Linked DNA regions of Homo sapiens: regions 1 and 2 are each linked to region 3. Evidence: promoter capture Hi-C in human tissues and cell types (Jung and others, 2019). All regions are on one chromosome and are shown on one strand. Each heading gives the region's core, a stretch centred on a gene start or on the middle of the fragment in contact. The rest is flanking DNA. Distances are from core to core; before and after follow the strand shown. Region 1 overlaps VSTM2B-DT (VSTM2B divergent transcript). Region 2 overlaps VSTM2B-DT (VSTM2B divergent transcript). Region 3 holds the start of VSTM2B (V-set and transmembrane domain containing 2B).

Evidence for each region. Contacts are between HindIII fragments. The study calls those that stand out against the background at their distance.
Region 1: a fragment that was not itself captured here is called in contact with the fragment with the promoter of VSTM2B in region 3 in 1 of the 25 tissues and cell types used here (hippocampus).
Region 2: a fragment that was not itself captured here is called in contact with the fragment with the promoter of VSTM2B in region 3 in 2 of the 25 tissues and cell types used here (dorsolateral prefrontal cortex and hippocampus).

What each region holds. Positions count from the first base shown.
Region 1 is chr19:29,483,538-29,486,237 of GRCh38, forward strand. The region is part of intron 1 of VSTM2B-DT (VSTM2B divergent transcript); the gene reads right to left. Among named protein-coding and RNA genes, the nearest start is that of VSTM2B-DT, 41 kb to the right of the region's middle. The HindIII fragment of the contact is 4,384 bases long and covers 1-2,700 here.
Region 2 is chr19:29,463,262-29,465,961 of GRCh38, forward strand. The region is part of intron 1 of VSTM2B-DT (VSTM2B divergent transcript); the gene reads right to left. Among named protein-coding and RNA genes, the nearest start is that of VSTM2B-DT, 61 kb to the right of the region's middle. The HindIII fragment of the contact is 5,057 bases long and covers 1-2,700 here.
Region 3 is chr19:29,524,685-29,527,384 of GRCh38, forward strand. VSTM2B (V-set and transmembrane domain containing 2B) reads left to right here and starts at 1,310. Exons shown (of 5, transcript NM_001146339.2): 1 at 1,310-1,981; 2 at 2,527-2,700. The coding sequence starts at 1,900. It overlaps VSTM2B-DT (VSTM2B divergent transcript), which reads right to left and starts at 1,066. Exons shown (of 10, transcript NR_040029.2): 1 at 740-1,066. All of the region lies in intron 1 of LOC124904683 (a long non-coding RNA gene), which reads right to left. The HindIII fragment of the contact is 17,468 bases long and covers 1-2,700 here.

The DNA of each region.
Region 1 (2,700 bases), core at 116-2,615, 41 kb before region 3:
AGAGAAAGGCTGGAGGGCACCACCCCCCCGCCCCTCAGTGCAGTGTTCCAGGGCCTGCCCACTGCCTGGGGAGGCGATGCCAGCACTCATCTCACAGCAGAGCATGTACCATCCTGTGCCATCCTGAGCACTCCTTGCACACTGTCATTTCCTGCCCATATCAACCCTCTGAAGGAGGGCCCATTTCCCAGGTAAGGAAACCGCGGCCGAGAGAGCTTACGGAACTCATTTGAGGTCACGCAGCCAGGTCTATCTGACCTCAGCTGATTCTTTGAAATGCTGTGTCAGGCTGCCCCCAGCAGTGACAAAGGTGACCTAGGATGGAGACATATTCCTTTAAAACAGCTGGAGTCTCCAGGGGTCAGGATGGATGCTTGAGTGATGGGTGCAGGCAGCCGGGCCCAGAAACCCTAAGGTGCTTTCTCTGCCATTACTCAGAGCCCCTCGATGTCCCCCCAACCCTTTCCAAAGTCCCTCAGCCTCCATCATGTTTGATCCTGAGGAAGAAGAGGTCTGTCCAGCCCCATTTTGCAGATGATGAAGCTGAGGCCAGAGTCTCACAACAGAGCAGACACCACATCAGGCCTTCTGACTCTGGGCCGTAGAAAGGCTCTGCAGAGAGGAGGTGTGGGGAGGACTCCTGTGAGGCCTGGCAGGGCATGGGATCCCCTCTAGCAGTCTCAGGCTATAGGCAGCAGAGGCAGAGAGTGAGCCTGGCAGGGGTTCTGGAGCTCCTGGCCTCTTCCTCGGCCTAAATCTCGGCCTTTGCAGCATGCGCATGTCAGCTGCACCTCTGACCTCACCAGGGGCTGCCAGCTGACTCTGATTTACCTGGAGCTTCCTGCTTCAGGGACAGTGAGGAGCCAGCCGGCCTCTCCTGGATCTGCACCCAGTGAGCTCCCATTCCTACCCTCCCTGGGGCCTGGGAGCTCAGGGAAGGCACTGGGCTGGAACAGCAGGATGGGCTGAGCCCATGGGCCATGGCACTGGGGACCCAGGTTCCTGTCTCCCCCAGACCACTAGATGACTAACAGTGAAACAGCAAAAGAACTAACGTCACTCACTCCATTTTTGTTTAAGGGGCCTTGACCCATTGCTGCCCACAGGCTAAGATAATTTTAGAGCACTGAGTTAAATTACGCAAAAACAGCAATCATGTCGTTTTTTTTAAGCTAACACTGAGGCTAAAGGGAAGTCTGTCAACAACCAACTATGTTTTGTTAAAGATTACAGGAGTATTGCCACCTGACCGAGGACAAATGTGTTCCCAACCTCCTCGGAACCTCGCTGGTGCCCAAACGTCTGAAGTCCTCTACCACCTCTTAATCCCAGCCCCCTTTTCTTTTCCCTGCCCTTAACTTAAAAAGAACCTGAAATGTGTCCTAACTAAAGATGGTACTTTAGGACGCTAGTCCGCCATCTTTGTGGTTTGCTGGCTGGTCTGAATAAACCTGCTTTTCCTCCCACCAACTCTCACCCCTTGTGTTTGATGTTTAAGCAGTACACAGCCGAACTGGGTCCTGTTACAACTGCAGCTGCTTCCCATATCTACGGGATCCCCATTGGTGTGGTGCTGACCGCCTGGAAGTCCTGCAGGGACTCCTAACTGTGAGGCACGTATCCCAGGAGCAGGTCTTGGCCTGGTAAGACTGTCCTAAGTCAGAGGCTAACAGAAAGCCTCCAGCCTGGTAGGATTTGAAAGGGGATCCTGGAAAAGTCCCCAAAACCTCCCAACTATGCCTGAAAACTCAGAGGTCTGCAACAGCCCCCAGCCCACCTGAGGAGGAGGTCTGCATTACTCCACCTCCAGGGCTGTCTGTCTTTTATCAACCCGGATGCAGGGGCAGCTTTCAGGGATGCATGGTATGGGGCGGATAGGAGCTACTGGGATGAGAGCGGGGCTGCAAGGGGAGGGGGCAGACTTCCCTATCCTTGTCCTACTTCATTCTCCCTCCATCCCTGCCCGGTTCATGCTCCCATTCCCACTTCACAGATGGCCCGGCCACAATGGTGAGGGGTGGCTGAAGCCAGGATTCAAATCCACATTACCTCACTCCCGAGCTCTTTTCCCCATGCAGGACTGCAAGGAAGAGAGGATGGATGGACAGGTCCACATTGTCACCAGTCCACCACCGTGGCCCCTGGGACACAGAGCCCCCACTCAGCCCACCTGGTCTGCCATGGACAGGATAAGTTAGCAAAAACCAAGATGAACAAAAAATATAGGAAATCTGACTATAAGTTAATAAATTTGATTTGCTACAGAAAATGCATCTACTTTTTCAGCATTCATGACCAAAATAAATACTTTTGACCACAAAAAATACCCTCTATAAGTTCCAAAATCATATAAAATGATATGGGCCACATTCTTTCATCACAATATAATAAAACTAGATGAGAATAATTAATGTTTAATGTTAAAAACCTAATCATTTAGGGTTTTGTGTGTGTGTGTGTTTGCGTGTGTGTGTGTTTTGGTTTTTTGTTTTTGTTTTTTTTCTGAGACGGAGTTTCTATGTTGTTGCCCAGGCTGGAGTGCAATGGTGTAATCTCAGCTTACTGCAACCTCTGCCTCCTAAGTTCAAGTGATTCTCCTGCCTCAGCCTCCCAAGTAGCTGGGATTGCAGGCGCCTGCCACCATGCCCAGCTAATTTTTTGTATTTTTAGTAGAGACGGGGTTTCACCATGTTGGCCAGG
Region 2 (2,700 bases), core at 20-2,519, 61 kb before region 3:
TCCTCTCTCACCGCTCCTATTCAACATAGTGTTGGAAGTTCTGGCCAGGGCAATCAGGCAGGAGAAGGAAATAAAGGGTATTCAATTAGGAAAAGAGGAAGTCAAATTGTCCCTGTTTGCAGACGACATGATTGTTTATCTAGAAAACCCCATTGTCTCAGCCCAAAATCTCCTTAAGCTGATAAGCAACTTCAGCAAAGTCTCAGGATACAAAATCAATGTACAAAAATCACAAGCATTCTTATACACCAACAACAGACAAACAGAGAGCCAAATCATAAGTGAACTCCCATTCACAATTGCTTCAAAGAGAATAAAATACCTAGGAATCCAACTTACAAGGGATGTGAAGGACCTCTTCAAGGAGAACTACAAACCACTGCTCAAGGAAATAAAAGAGGACACAAACAAATGGAAGAACATTCCATGCTCATGGGTAGGAAGAATCAATATCGTGAAAATGGCCATACTGCCCAAGGTAATTTACAGATTCAATGCCATCCCCATCAAGCTACCAATGACTTTCTTCACAGAATTGGAAAAAACTACTTTAAAGTTCATATGGAACCAAAAAAGAGCCCGCATCGCCAAGTCAATCCTAAGCCAAAAGAACAAAGCTGGAGGCATCACACTACCTGACTTCAAACTATACTACAAGGCTACAGTAACCAAAACAGCATGGTACTGGTACCAAAACAGAGATATAGATCAATGGAACAGAACAGAGCCCTCAGAAATAATGCCGCATATCTACAACTATCTGATCTTTGACAAACCTGAGAAAAACAAGCAATGGGGAAAGGATTCCCTATTTAATAAATGGTGCTGGGAAAACTGGCTAGCCATATGTAGAAAGCTGAAACTGGATCCCTTCCTTACACCTTATACAAAAATCAATTCAAGATGGATTAAAGATTTAAACGTTAGACCTAAAACCATAAAAACCCTAGAAGAAAACCTAGGCATTACCATTCAGGACATAGGCGTGGGCAAGGACTTCATGTCCAAAACACCAAAAGCAATGGCAACAAAAGCCAAAATTGACAAATGGGATCTAATTAAACTAAAGAGCTTCTGCACAGCAAAAGAAACTACCATCAGAGTGAACAGGCAACCTACAACATGGGAGAAAATTTTCGCAACCTACTCATCTGACAAAGGGCTAATATCCAGAATCTACAATGAACTCAAACAAATTTACAAGAAAAAAACAAACAACCCCATCAAAAAGTGGGTGAAGGACATGAACAGACACTTCTCAAAAGAAGACATTTATGCAGCCAAAAAACACATGAAAAAATGCTCATCATCACTGGCCATCAGAGAAATGCAAATCAAAACCACTATGAGATATCATCTCACACCAGTTAGAATGGCAATCATTAAAAAGTCAGGAAACAACAGGTGCTGGAGAGGATGTGGAGAAATAGGAACACTTTTACACTGTTGGTGGGACTGTAAACTAGTTCAACCATTGTGGAAGTCAGTGTGGCGATTCCTCAGGGATCTAGAACTAGAAATACCATTTGACCCAGCCATTCCATTACTGGGTATATACCCAAATGACTATAAATCATGCTGCTATAAAGACACATGCACACGTATGTTTATTGCGGCATTATTCACAATAGCAGACTTGGAACCAACCCAAATGTCCAACAATGATAGACTGGATTAAGAAAATGTGGCACATATACACCATGGAATACTATGCAGCCATAAAAAATGATGAGTTCATGTCCTTTGTAGGGACATGGATGAAATTGGAAACCATCATTCTCAGTAAACTATCGCAAGAACAAAAAACCAAACACCGCATATTCTCACTCATAGGTGGGAATTGAACAATGAGATCACATGGACACAGGAAGGGGAATATCACACTCTGGGGACTGTGGTGGGGTCGGGGGAGGGGGGAGGGATAGCAAAAAAAAAAAAAAGTGTATTTTTATGGAATACATAAAAGGTAACTCTTGTGAGTTATGACTTTGAAAAAAAAAAAAAAGAAATTAAAATCATTTGAGAACCACTGACTGTAAAAAAAAAAGACAGACAGTTTATCTTAAGAATAACTGGTGTTCCTAAAGAAAAAAATCCAACAAGTAGAACAAAATATGTATTCAAAGATATAATACAAGAAATTTTCCCTGTATTGAAAAAAATAAATGAACATGCTAAAAACAAAACAAAATAAACAAAATAGCACAATGTGTTTTAGCAACATTTGATACAGAAATTCCAACACAAAGACACAGCCCATCCAATTAAGTTATTAAACTTCAAAGTTAAGAGAGAAATTTTTACATATCTAAGCAGAAAGAGAAAAATCACACACAATGGGAAAATCAGGCAAGACACTGACTTCTCTACAGCAACACTCAGAGCCCGACAAAAAGGTATTAATGTCTGTGTTTGGAGGGAAAGAAAAGGCAGCAAAGAATATTACACCCAGCCAAAGTTATTCATGTATAAAGGCAAGAAGCATCCATTCTGAAATGTTAAATACTTCAGGAAATGTAGAACACAGAAGCCTTTTTCAAGAAAATAAAATGAACTATTCACAATTAAATCCAAGCAATTAACAGATTAGAAATACGTAAAAATAAACATAGGAATTGAGACATTGGGGTAGAAGAAGGAGGAATGAGCAGAGAGTTCACTTAAATATAGATAAACATTAAGTAACTCAGGGAATTATGA
Region 3 (2,700 bases), core at 60-2,559:
GAAACTGAAAGGCAGGCACTGGAGGCAAGAAGGGCTGGCCCCGGGCACCCGCTGGCGAGGACAGCCTTGGAGAGGGCCTGCAGCTCCTCCCCTCTGAGCTGTGCTGCGCTGGCCGCCTGGACCAGGGTGGCTGCTGGAGAGTGTTTTCCCTCTGGGTTTCCTTCTCCTTGGCTCCCAGGGAATCCTCTGGCGGTGCCTCCGGGAGGCTGGTAGCCGGGGAAGCAGGCACGTGAATCCACCGGGCTGCCCCACCCCAACCTGAGGTCAGAGCTGAGGCGTAGGGGCCGGGGTAGGGGCAGAGGTGCCGAAACGCACTAGCTGGGGACTCCCGGGGGAAGGAGATAGGAGAGACCCAAGGCGAGCCTTAGGACTCGCCCCTATGACTATGACTACGCGCTGCGTCCGAACCACATGTCCACCCCGCATTTGCCTTCGGGGACCAGACCGCGCTCCCTCAGATGGCTGGGGAGGGAGCAGACTCCGGGTGAAGGCTGGGGGAGGTACCGGGATGCCGAGTACGCCAGAGCAGGCGGGGGATGGGTTCCGGCTTCCTGCCGCCTCGGCATCTCGCTTTGCACCGGGCAAAGAAGGGGCCACGACCGGCGAAGAGCGCGTGGAGACACAGGGACCCGCGATCCAGGGGCAGGAACCCCGCCCCCTCCCGGAAACCTCCCGGGCCCTGAGTCGTGCCCGGCGCTCCCCACCCCACCCCACCCCCGCCGCCCCTGCCGTCACTCACGGCCGCTGCGGGCTGGCTAGCGTGTGCGCTCTCCGCGCCGCAGGCACCTGCTCGCTGGGCGCTGTGCGCTCACTTCTCCCTCGCGCACTGCAGACTCCCGGCGCTGCCGCCGCCACCCAGCGTAGTCTCCGGCTGGGCACAGCGTTCCGCCCTTCTCGCGGCCCCGGGCGCCCACCCATCCGTCATGGCCCAGGCCTGGGCCAAACAGCGGGGCAGCTGGTTGCCCAAACTGGGGTAAGGAGTTGAGGGCTGGGAGCTGCAGAGAGGACCGAGGGACACACGGGGAGCAGGGATGAGCGGCCGTCTCGAGCCGTGCAGACTGGGAAGAAGCCAGGGAGAGTTTGGGTGGGAGGACTCCCAACCCAAGCGGGTGCGGGGCGGGGCTGTACTCCAACCAGAAAGACGGTGGTCCCTCCGAGCGACCCCCGAGGAGAGAGGGGGAGCGCTCTGGGGCGGGGGCGGGGCGGGCTGTGGCAGGAGAGGGGAGGGCGGGGGCGATGCAGCGGTGGAGGCGGCTTGGCGCCCAGCCACTGACCGCCCCCTCCCTTCCCCTCCCCTCCCCCTCTCCCCGCCTCTCTCCGGCTCCGGGTCCGCCACGCCGGACCCGCTCTCCCCGCGCTGCGCTGGGTCGGACGCCAGGTCTGCGCGCCGCGGCTGAGCGCCCACTCGCCCTGCGGAAAGAGCCGCGGAGGAACCGGCGGGGGCGGCTGCGGGAGCCGAAGGAGGTGGCAATCGGGAGCAGAACCAGAAGGAGACAGGGAGGCAGAAGCTCGCGGCTCCGTGGCACGCACTCCCTCGGCCAGGGATGGGTCCCGGCGCGGCCCAGCCCCTGCCCGGCCCGCCGGGCAGAGACTGAACCGCGGATCCCCACCGTCCTGTGGACGACCGGACAGAGAGAGGCACTGACCGATCGCCAGCAGCCTCCCGGTGGGACCGCGTCTCCTGCACACCCCGCGCAGCGCCCCCCGCCGGAGCCGCACCGGGCAAGCCGGCGAGGGAGCGGGGCTGATTGGCGGCCGCCGGCGGCCAGGGGAGGGGGCGCCGCGCGGGGCCATGGCAGGCTCGGAGGCGTCCTAGCCCGAGCCGGAGCCGATCCGAGCCCACGCGGCCGCCGCCTCTCCGCTCCCGGGCCCCCGCCGCCACCGCGCCCCCCGCGGGAGATGGAACAGCGGAACCGGCTCGGTGCCCTCGGATACCTGCCGCCTCTGCTGCTGCATGCCCTGCTGCTCTTCGTGGCCGACGGTGAGCGCGGGAACTTTGCTGCCGCTGTGGACTCGGGGGGGTCTTTGCTGGGGCCGCCACCGAGAAGAAGAAGAAAGAGAACGAACCGGGAAGCTTCGCGGTCTCCAGCAATCCCGCTGTGCAGCCTGGGCCCGGAGGGGTAGGGAGAGGCGAGCGGCGAAGGGTCGCCGCAGCAGCAGCGCCGCGCCCGAGTCGTTCCCAGTCCCGCCGGGGCCCCGGCTGCGGAAAGGATGCCTGCGGGGAGCGGGAGTAGGCGCGCCCCAGCCAGGCTCTGGCGGTGCGGCCAGGGGCGGGGGAGAAGCACGAGTCGCCCCTGCCGCCCCGCCCCATCCGGAGGGAAGCAGTAGGCAGCCGATGGCCGGTCCCTGCCTCGGCCCTGCAGCCGCTTCCCCGAACTTTGCTAGCCCCTCCGGCCGTGCGCCAGGGAGCAGCTGCGGGGTGGGGGGCACAAGGCCAGCCAGCCAGAGACCGACTGCCTCGCTTTAGGTTGCCCCAGGCCCCCGACCTACAGCTGGTCACGCCTCTCTCTCTCTCCCCACCCCCAGCTGCATTCACAGAAGTCCCCAAAGATGTGACAGTACGGGAGGGAGACGACATCGAAATGCCCTGCGCGTTCCGGGCCAGCGGAGCCACCTCGTATTCGCTGGAGATTCAGTGGTGGTACCTCAAGGAGCCACCCCGGGAGCTGCTGCACGAGCTGGCGCTCAGCGTGCCGGGCG